2 separate regions of the Homo sapiens genome follow, and region 2 is linked to region 1. The links are contacts of gene promoters, found by promoter capture Hi-C in human tissues and cell types (Jung and others, 2019). All regions are on one chromosome and are shown on one strand. The core of a region is centred on a gene start or on the middle of the fragment in contact, and the rest is flanking DNA. Distances in the headings are between cores, read along the strand shown. Region 1 holds the start of GHR (growth hormone receptor). Region 2 overlaps C7 (complement C7).

What was found. The method cuts DNA at HindIII sites, captures the fragments that hold promoters and counts their contacts. A contact is called where the count stands out against the background at its distance.
Region 2: a contact is called between a fragment that was not itself captured here and the fragment with the promoter of GHR in region 1, in 1 of the 25 tissues and cell types used here (aorta).

The regions. Positions count from the first base shown.
Region 1 is chr5:42,419,153-42,424,688 of GRCh38, forward strand. GHR (growth hormone receptor) reads left to right here and starts at 4,287. Exons shown (of 10, transcript NM_000163.5): 1 at 4,287-4,803. RefSeq lists promoters at 3,570-4,655, 4,079-4,651, 4,261-4,361, 4,559-5,327, 4,980-5,327 and 1 more, cis regulatory regions at 3,570-4,078, 4,416-4,456 and an enhancer at 4,283-4,432. The HindIII fragment of the contact is 10,174 bases long and covers 2,219-5,536 here.
Region 2 is chr5:40,915,834-40,921,369 of GRCh38, forward strand. All of the region lies in intron 1 of C7 (complement C7), which reads left to right. Among named protein-coding and RNA genes, the nearest start is that of C7, 9.1 kb to the left of the region's middle. RefSeq lists an enhancer at 338-873. The HindIII fragment of the contact is 5,596 bases long and covers 1-5,208 here.

The DNA.
Region 1 (5,536 bases), core at 3,037-5,536:
AAAAAAATTCATTAAAGGGATAATATTTTATTAGAATCTTATTAATTTTACCAGTAAATATTGTATTAATCAGGGAGATATATATATATATATATGTCATATTCATGAGATATATATATATATATATATGTCATATTCATGAGATATATATACAGAGACTTATTTTGAGAAATTTGCTCACATAATTGTGAAAACTGAAAAGTCAAAAATCTACAGGGTAAATTGGTTACAGATTTAGGGAATAGTTGATATGCAGTTTGAATCCAAAGGCTGCCTGCTGACAGAATTTTCTCTTCTTTGGGATAGGTCAGTTTTTTTCTCTTAATGCCTTCAACTGATCGATTGAGGCCCACCTACATTATGTAGAGCAATATGATTTACTCAAAGTCTATTGATTTAAATGTTAATCTTACCATAAAAATGCCTTTGCCAAAAAAATCTAAAATAATATTTGACCAAATATCTGGGTACCATGGTCTAGCAAAATTGACACATAAAATTAACCATCTCAATGTGTCAACTTTGCTAGGGCATGGTACCCGGACATTTGGTCAAATATTATTCAAATAAATTTAGAATTTATCACAAATGTTTGATATCATAATTTGATTTACAAATATCAATCTAATACTTTATTTTACAGCTGAATGATCTCAGAGAGCAACCCCTTCCTTCTATAGGCCAAGAAATGGAGTCATTGTGAGATTAGTAACTAATTTACCCAAAATCACAGAGGACCCACACAGGATCCCAAGGCTCCTGACTAACAATCCTATGTTCTTCAACTACAAATGCTATAAAACAAAACAGCTATAAAATGCTACTTTAAGTGTTTTGGCCTCTTTTGTTTTGTTTTGAGAAGAAGCTTTGGCATTTTATAGTACAACAGAGTGACTAAAGCCATGCTCTAACCTCAGATAACTGTAGATTTAGGAAGTTTATACTGTGGTGTTTTATGGTTTGGGGAGATGGCGATCTGACCTAGATATCTGCACTTGAATATATATAATCAGAATTATTTTCTAATTGTTTCTATTGTCTTCAAGGCAGTTTATATTTTTTGCTAAGCCCTACTGGGGATGTATAAAAGACTGGGGAAGGGTGGGCCATAATAAGGTAAGGCCATAATAAGGTAAAATAGGTTGGACAAGATAAGTTAGCCAATATCTGAGTAAAGACTTCAAGGAACTGTAGGAGGAAGCAAATGAATATTTGTGGAAGTGTGTTTAAATCAGAGAGAAAAGCCAGCAAAAAGCCTTCAAGTTAGGAGTCTGCCTGGCCTGCTTAAGAAACAGCAGGGAGGCCGGTGTGCTGGGAGCAGAATGGATGACCCAGTGATGGGGAAATTCATGGGAGATGAGGTGTGGGGCAAAGGTACATAGCTCACGTAGGGTCTCATGGGCCATTTTGAATTTTATTCTGATTTGAATGGGGAACCATTGGAGGGTTTTGAGCTGAGGAATGACATGATATTAATTTTAAAAGGAATGACTATGGCAACTGAATTTATACTTTGGGTTGTTGTTGGTGTTGGTTGGGGATTAGGGGTGGGGTTTGTCAAAGCAAGCAGACCAGTTGAGTTGAGAGACTACTGCAGTAATCTGAGAAATTCTGGTGGTTCAGACCAGGTGTCTCTGGACCTCTCCAAGAAAATAGACAGAGTTTTGAATGTGGAATGTGATTGGCAGAGAAGAAGTAAGGATGATTTCAAAGGTTTGTGGCCTGGGTAACTGGCAGGAAGTAGTTGCCATCTACTGAGATGGAAATGTCACCCACTGTGATTGGAGTATGTTTAAGGAGAAAGAACCAGAGTTCAGATGTGGACATGTCAAGTTTCAGAGGTCTGTTAGACATCCAAATGGAGATACCCAGTTGTTAGCCTGGAGCTCTGTGGAGAGATCTGGGTTAGAGATATAAATCCAAGAGATACAACTTTTCATTCAATTTGATTATTTATTGGACGCTTTATAAACTCTGTAAATACTGGGCACTAACCTAGACATTGCAGGTACAGATATTAAGAATATATAGTTTCTCCCTCAGAAATCTCTTAATTAATGAGAAAAGCAGACATGTCAACAAAACTGCAATATTTAATAAAAGAAGATATAAAGGCCTATAAAGGTGCTGATACAGGGAGAATTAATTAATTCCACCCTGGGGAATAGTCAGGAAGACCTTCAGAGAGAAAGTAAACAATTGATTGGAACTTTAAGATTAAGAAGGATTTCTCTGGGTGGACAAAGTAGGATCTTCCAAGCAGAGTGGAAACCATGAGCAAATGCAGTTTCATTCTTCAGAAGGTAAATGTGCTCTGGCATGCCTTAACTTATAACAAATTAATCAACTCAATACCTGCTACATTTTCCCTCACAATTTGGAATATATAAAGAGGCACATACTACTATGGACCAATACCTGGTCATATATGAGATTGAAGGACCTTTACTTACGAGGCTTAAAAATAAAGACTGCCCTTCATGTCAGTTGCAGGTTTATATCTAGTTCTATAGTATTAACTGAGGTGTCTTTTCCTATGTTTTCTGTGCATGATGACTTTTTAAAAATCAAAGACAGAGCAGCAGCCAGAGTAGTCTAGTTTCATGGCACACAGAATGGAGGATATTGCTGAACCCAGATTTAAAAAAAAAAAGAAGTCAATTCTTATTTTTTTAAGTATGGCCCTGAGCTCATCTCAGAGCATAAACAATAGAATTTAGAATATCTTTTATGACTCCGTCTGGCACCTCCTAAACTAGATCAAGATTCTCTAGCTCAGGGAAGAAGGGCAAAGGATGAGAAGGCACAGAGAGGATATAAACAGAGAGGTTGGTAGTGCCAGGCTCTGAAGAAGGTCCAACTTGGAAGGTCATTTCAGACAGGCGTGGAGTCAGCATTTGAGGCCTGTCTGGTCTCTACTCCTGCCAGGACTACCCTGTCAGCCAGCTTGGCAGGTATGGACCACCCAGCAGGAGTTTTTCTTGACTGTGCCCTAATCTTTTACTTTCCCAAGTTTCTCTATATGGGTACCTCCCCTTTTAAAAGCTCCAGACACAGCCAAGCACCACTATTGCTCCAGCAAAGTATGAAGCCCCAGAAATCAATGGTTTGGGGAAGAGTCTTAGGGGAACTAAATGCCTCCTTATTTTTAGATGCCATAGAACAAGAGCAGTTCAGGATCAATAACCATCCCACCCCATGATAAAACACGCCCCTTCCAGAATCTTTCCTTTTTCGTTCATTCTAGGTGTCTGTCTGGAACAGCTGGGGTATTTGAGCCACAGCTGAGCTTCTGAAAGCATTCTAAGGAACAGTTTTTCACTTATCTGATTCCTTTGAAAATAGGGGTATCTTATGTGATATCTGCTATCCCAGAGTCTTTGGTCCTCTGTTCCTTCTCAAGTCTTGGCTCCCGTGTACTACTTCAAAGCCCTATAGATATTTTATTCTAAAGAAAAGAAACTTGGTTCCTTTAAGTTGTTTAAACATTTCTTTCTGGGTATAAACTTGGGTTTGTGTCTGGGAGCTCTGTTAAAAAAAAAAAGTCTTTAGTAAGCCAAAGCTGTTAGAAGCTTATAAGTAAGTGACATTACAATTGACCGTCAGTAAATAGTGGAAAGATTGCATGACTAGCTACTCCTTCAGATCTGAGACAACCTGGAGCTAGATTTTTGTACTCTCTACTCAGAAAAGCATATAGTGACTTGGGGTTTGATGCTGTACAAAAATGACATGCTTATGCACAACTTTAACTTTCTGCAACACTTTTACAACTTCTTGTGAATGAAGTAGGCAGGGCTCGCATTTGACAGATGAGCTATGTCCAGCGTGAGGCAGAGTTAAAACCCTTTTCCTGGCTCAGGAACTTCAGGCTGGGGCCTGTGTCTGCTCTCCCTGCATCCCTGTCCTCTAGCAGATACCTCTCTGCTAACATGCTGAGTGTCCTTGGTAAATTACTCATTCTCTCTGTCTCCGTCTTCTAACCTCCACAATAAAGTCCTTCGTAGTTTTAACTATCTTTTCACTGTGCCCCAGTGAGCAGGAGTTTGGAACTTGATTGTTGATGGAAAGGCAATATTTGGATGGCTAAACACGCTTTCCAAGGTATCTCGCTGATCTTCCTCTCATTCCTGGAGATAGCTAACCTTTTTGTAAGTGTTTCTTTGAGTCTGTGGACTGCACTTAACGCTCTTGTAGGTCCTGCTTTCATTTGGAACGGGCAGGCGGAGAGGAAGGAAGTGTATTGCAACTACCAATATTTTCCTCTAGGAGGAGCCGCGCAGCTCAGTTGAGAGTGACACGCACCAACTCCAGCTCCTCGCCGGGAAGACTTCATCCCAGCAACTCGGAATGCTTGGCCCGGGCGGCACTCGGCCTCTCCGCAGCAGTTCTCGAACTGGCCTCCTTGAACGTCCGCTTCGCCTTCGCTTCTGCAACCTGGATCTGGGGGACTGCGGGCCAGGCGCGGCGTGACCCCTGGTGAACGGTGGCCGCCTTTTCCCACCCCTGCCCTCCCATCCTCCCTTCCCGTTTCACCCCGCCCCCTCTCTCCTCCCCAAGCCTGACAGCCCGCGAGCTGCCAAGCAGGGCGCAGCCATGGGAAGAGGAGGAGGGCTAGGGAGCGGCGGCGGCGGCGGCAGCGGCAGCAGCAGCTGCTACAGTGGCGGTGGCGGCGGCGGCTGCTGCTGAGCCCGGGCGGCGGCGGGGACCCCGGGCTGGGGCCACGCGGGCCGGAGGCCCCGGCACCATTGGCCCCAGCGCAGACGCGAACCCGCGCTCTCTGATCAGAGGCGAAGCTCGGAGGTACTGGAGTGGGGCTCCGGGAGTCTGGCTTTATTTTCCTCCTGTTGTGCCAGGGGGCCTGAGGGTGAACCCTGGGACTCTAGTTGTTTATGAAAACGGGAGGATCTGTCTTATATATTTACACGGATAATTTTTTATTCCGGATGACTTGGCTGTGCTCCCCTCCTCCTTGCGAAGAAGTTGTTTTCTGCTGGTGGGTTGTTGTAACCCAATCTAGTGTGTGTGTGTGTGTGTGTGTGTGTGTGTGTGTGTGTGTGTGTGTGTCTGGAAGTTGGTGAGGGCGGCAGGGAGTTGCGGGCGACAGACGAACCATCACACTCTGGCGTCTGCTCTGGCCCGCGAGTAGTGTACGTGGAGGGGTTTACTCCGGAGACAGTTTTGTTAAAGTCATAAAAGTTTTGCTAGTGTGTTTCTGTTTGCCATCATCTGCCTGGCTGCGGCAGGAACTGCCGAGGCTGCTGCTGTTGCGCGGGGAAGAATCCCCGGCAGCGCGACTGGAGAGACTGGGGAGGTCGAGCTGTGCGCGTGGACACAGCGCGCAGAGCGCGCGGTCTTTTGCGCGTTTGTGCGGGCCGCAGCCGCACGTTGGCACCGATGGAACTGGGGTCAGTAGAGTGACAGCCACCAGTCCGCATGAACTGGGGTAAGTGGAAATTGTGGCGAGCCGACCTCCCCCAGCTTTTGACACACTAGTGGTTGTAAAATCAACCAGGCTTAAAGTTTTGACAGAACT
Region 2 (5,536 bases), core at 1,161-3,660, 1.5 Mb before region 1:
ACCTAATAAGAGAATGGGTTATCTAAGAAGGATAGTGGAAAGATCCAGAAAATAATGTTAAGAAGACTTTTCATAGGTACATTGAGAAAAAGAGTTTTGGGGAGTTCAGGAAGAAGAGAGAAAATATTGGGCTATTAAAATGTGAGATGATTTTAAAGTCCTTTATCCAGAGTTATAAATTGGATGCATTTGATATTCTTAGAGAATCAGTAAAGATTTGAATTGTATCTTCTCCATCACCTTCAGCTATCAGTTAAAGTAGGAAAATACATACAGTTAAAGTAGGAAAATATATAATAGAAACTACCTATAATTTGACAACCAGAAATAAACTATTATGCTTTATTATATTTCTTTCTAGATTTTGTTTTTCAATGCACATTTGATTTTTCAAACAAAATGTAATCACATTTTATGTACAATTTTGTAACCTATCAGATCCTCTGTATTTATTTAGGCTTGTGCTATCACATAAAGATGATCATAAAAGGCCTCAGGAGTGTTTTAAACATCAAACGGACCACCCACAGTACTAAAGAATAAGATGAGAGTCACTGCCCCCTGCCTACTGCTGTGCTTCAACCTTGATTACCAACTTAGGAAGCTTGGTTTCTTTTTAAAATCAGCCATTTGCACTGCTACTTCATTCAGGTTTTCTCTCCTCTTGGTATCCCTCCGGAGTGCTGTAGTCAGAGAGAACCGGAGTGGAATAAGGGATTAAAAGATGATGGGACCTTAAGGAAATGCTCGAAACCATTTAAGTCTACTGAGTATTTTCAATTTGTGTGTCCATGGCATCACCCAACCCTTACTTGTCTTTAGAGAATTCAGCGGTAGGAGATAGAGTTTGACAGGATTGTACCAAATTTTTATTTTTTTTTTAAAAAAGCATTTATTTATCTTTGTAATTTATTTCTTTTAACTGACAAATAAAAATTGTGTCTATTTATTGTGCACAACATGATGTTATAAAATATGTATATATTGTAGAATGGCTCAATTGAGCTAATTAACCATATGCATTACCTCCCATACTTTTGTAGGGAGAATACTTAAAATCTACTCTCTTAGGAGTTTTTAAGAATATAATACATTGTTCTAGAGCAGCCTGGCCAACATAGTGAAACCCAGTCTCTACTAAAAATTCAAAAATTAGCCAGGCATGTTGGCGCTCACCTGTAATCCCAGCTACTTGGGAGGCTGAGGCAAGAGAATCACTTGAATCTGGGAGGCAGAGGTTGCAGTGAGCCAAGACTGTGCCAATGCACTCCAGCCTGAGTGACAGAGCGAGACTCCATCTCAAAAAAAAAAAAAAGAAAAAGAATATAATATATTGGTATTAAGTAAGTCACCATTTTGTATGATAGATCTCTTGAACTTATTCCTTCTATGTAACTGAAGTTTTGTAACCTTTGACCAACATCTCTTCAACAATCCCCACCCTGCCCCCATGGCCCTTGGTAACCATTTTACTCTTTACTTATTAGACTTCAACATTTTTAGATTCCAAATATAAGTATTTTTCTAGAAAGAAAAATACTGAATGTTTTATTTCTGCTTGTTTTATTTCACTTAACATAATGTTATCTGGGTTAATCCATGTTGTCACAAATGACAGAATTTTCTTCTTTTTTTAAGGCCAAGTACTATTTCATTGTGTCTCTTTACCACATTTTCTTTATCCCCTTATCCTTTGATGGACACTTAGGTTGGTTCTGTATCTTGGCTATTGTAAATAATGCAGCAATGAACATGGGAGTGCACATTTCTCTTTGATATACTGATTTCATTTACTTTGGCTATATACCCTGTAGGGGATTGCTGAATCATATGCTTGTTCTATTTTTAATTTTTTGAAGATCCTTCAAACTTCTATTTAAAATAGAAACTTAAAAAGATAAGCAGAGTCACTTAGCCTTCTCCATGGTTCTTTCACTTTTTATACTGCCAAGTCACAAATCTTGACTTGTACAAATGTAATAGTTTTCAAATCATTTAAGAAATGTAAGCTAGAACTATTAATGACAACTATAGTAACACTAAAATAACTTTTCAAAGGATACACATGATGTAAATTCTGACATCAAAAAAATATAAACTGTTTGACGGGAGAGTAAAAATGTAGAGTTGTATGCAAAGTTAAGTTGTAATCACCTTGAAATAAGCTGTTGTGATTATAAGATGTTCTCTGGAAGCCTCATAATAAGCACAAAGCAAAAATCTTTAGTAGAAGCACAAAACAGAAATAGTATTCAAAGAATACCACTATTGAAAACTGCGAAACCACAAAGACAACAAGACAGAAAGAAAGAAAAATGTATCTTCCAGCCTGGGCAACATAGGGTGGCCCTATCTCTACAATAACTTCAAAAAAAATTAGCTGGATGTGGTGGCACGTACCTGTGGTCCCAGCTACTCACAAAGGCTGAGGTGGGAGCATCATTTGAGCCTGGGAGGTCGAGGGTGCAGTGAGCTGTGATCACACTACCGCACTCCAGCCTGGGCAAGAGAGGCCCTATCTCCAAAAAAAAAGTATCTACAATACCACAACAACAACAACAAGAAAAACAACAACAACAACATAACAAAATGGCAGTAGTAAGTCCTTATCTATCAATAATTACCTTGAATGTAAATGAATTAAGTTCTCCAGTAAAAAGATATAGAGTAAGTGAATGAATAAAAAAACAAGAGCCAACTATACGTTACCTGCAGGAAACTCACCTCACTTTTAAGGGCACACAGATTGAAAATTAGGCAATGGAAGAAAGATATTCCACATCAATAGAAACCAAAAGAAAGCAGGGATAACTATACTTATATAAGACAAAATAGACTTAAAGTCAAAAACTGTAAAAAAAAAAAGTAAGGACATTATATGATGATAAAGGAGTCAACTCATCAAGAGGGTATAACAATTGTAAATATATATGCACCCAACTTCAGAGAACCTAAATATATAAAATAAATATTAAGGATATGATGGAAGAGACAGATTGCAATACAATTATAGTAGGGTATTTCAATACGCCACTTTCAACAATGAAAGATAATCCAGAAAATTAGTAAGAAAACATTGGATTTGAAAATCGCTTTAGACCTAATGAATCTAACAGACACACACACACACACACACACACACACACACACACACACACAGAACATTCCATCCAACAGCAACAGAATGCACATTCTTCTCAAGTGCACACAGAACTTTCTCCAGGACAGATAACATTTTAGGGGGAAAAACAAGCTTCAGCAAATTTAAGAAGATTGAAATTATATCAAGTATCTTTTTTTTTTTTTTTGAGTTGGAGTCTTGCTCTGTCACCCAGCCTGTAGTGCAGTGGTCTGATCTCAGCTCACTACAACCTCCACCTCCCAGGCTCAAGTGATTCTCCCACCTCATCCCTTCCGAGCAGCTGGGACTACAGGCGTGCACCACCACATCCAGTTAATTTTTGTATTTTTAGTAGAGACGGGGTTTCACCATGTTGGCCAGGCTGGACTCAAACTCCTAACCTCAAGTGATCTGCCCACCTTGGCCTCCCAAAGTGCTGGGATTACAGGTGTGAGCCACCACAACTGGCCTCAAGTATCTTTTCTGACCACAGTGATATGACACTAGAAATCAATTATGGGAGGAAGCTAGGTGTCATGTTATGCACCTGTAGTCCCAGCTAATTGGAAAGCTGAGGTGGGAGGATTGCTTAAGTCCAGGAGTTCAAGGCTGCAGTAGCTATGACTGTGCGAGTGCACTCCAGCCTGGGTGACAGAAAAAGACCCTGTCTCTAAAAATAAATAAATAAAAATAAATGAATGAATATAGGGGGAATTTTGAAAAATCCACAAATATATGGAAATTAGCATGCTCCTCAACAACCAATAGGTCAATGAAATTAAAAGGGAAATTAAAAATCTTTAGATAACAAGATAAAAATCTTGTTATCTTAAGATAAACAAAAATGGAAACACAACATAGCAAACATATGGGATACAGCAAAAACAGTTCAAAGAGGAACGTTTATAACAATAAATGTCTACATCAAAGAGAAGAAAGATTTAAAATAAATAAGCTAATGTCATACCTCAAGGAAACAGAAAAAGAAGAATAAACTAAGCCAAAGTTAGCATAAGAAAGGAAATAATAAAAATCAGAGCAGAAATAAATGAAATAGAGACTAGAAAAACAATACAAAAGATAGATAAAATAAGTTCTTTTTTGAAAAGATGAACAAATTTGACAAACTAGATTAATTTAAAAAAAAGAAGATTCATAATACCACAAAAATACAAAAGATCATCAGGGACTATCATCAACAATTATACATCAACAAATTGGATAACTAAGAAGAAGTGGTTAAATTCTTCTGTTCATTTAGGTCCTGTAAAGTGTTTCTGTAAAGTGTTGTTCAAGTTGAATGTTTTCTTATTAATTTTCTGTCTGGATGATCTTCCAGCATTGAAAGTGAGGTATGGAAGTTTTCTACTGTTACATTGCAATCCATCAGATCCTGTGGATCTGAAGAAAGAGATGGGTTGCAATACAATATTTACATATTGTATAAATATAAATATCTGTTTTATATGTTTAGGTGCTCCAAAGCATACAACATACAAAGACTGAATCATAAAGAAATGGAAAATCTGAACATACCAATAATGAGTAAAAAGATTGAATCTGTAATAAAAGTTCTCCCATTAAAAAAAAAAAAAAAAAAGCAGAGGACTTGATGGCTTCATGGCTGAATTCTACCAAACATTTATTTTTTATTTTTCCTCACTGTCACCATTTTTATTCAATATAATACTGAAAGTCCTAACGATAGCAATTAGGCAAGACAACAAAATAAATGGCATTCAAATTTAAAGGGAAGAGGTCAAGTTATTCTTGCTTTTAAACAACATGAACTTATATTTAGAAAAAAATGTAGGCTGGGCATGGTGGCTCATGCCCATAATCCCAGCACTTTGGGAGGCCAAGGAGGGTGGATCACCTGAGGTTAGGAGTTTGAGACCAGCCTGCCCAACATGGGGAAACCCCATCTCTACTAAAAATACAAAACTTCACTGGGCGTGGTGGTGCACGCCTATAATCTCAGCTACTCAGGAGGCTGAGGCAGGAGAATTGCTTGAACTTGGGAGGCTGAGGTTGCAGTTAGCCAAAATGATGCCACTGCACTTCAGCCTGGGCGACAGAGCAAGACTCTGTCTCCAAAAAAAAAAAAAAATGAAAGACTACACTAAATAAATCTTAGCAGTGATAAATTAATTCAGTAAATTTGCAGGCTACCAAATTAACATGCAAAAATCAGCAGCATTCCTACATGCTAACAGAGATGGTTCTGAAAAGAAAATCAAGAAATAAATTCCATTTATAAAAGCTATAAAATAAAATACCAAGGAATAAATTTAATCAAAGAAGTTAAAGATTCTACAAAAAATACTATAAAACACTGATGAACGTAATTTAAGAGAACACAAAAAAGGAAAGATATCCCATGCTCATGGATTGGAAAAATTAATACCATTAAAA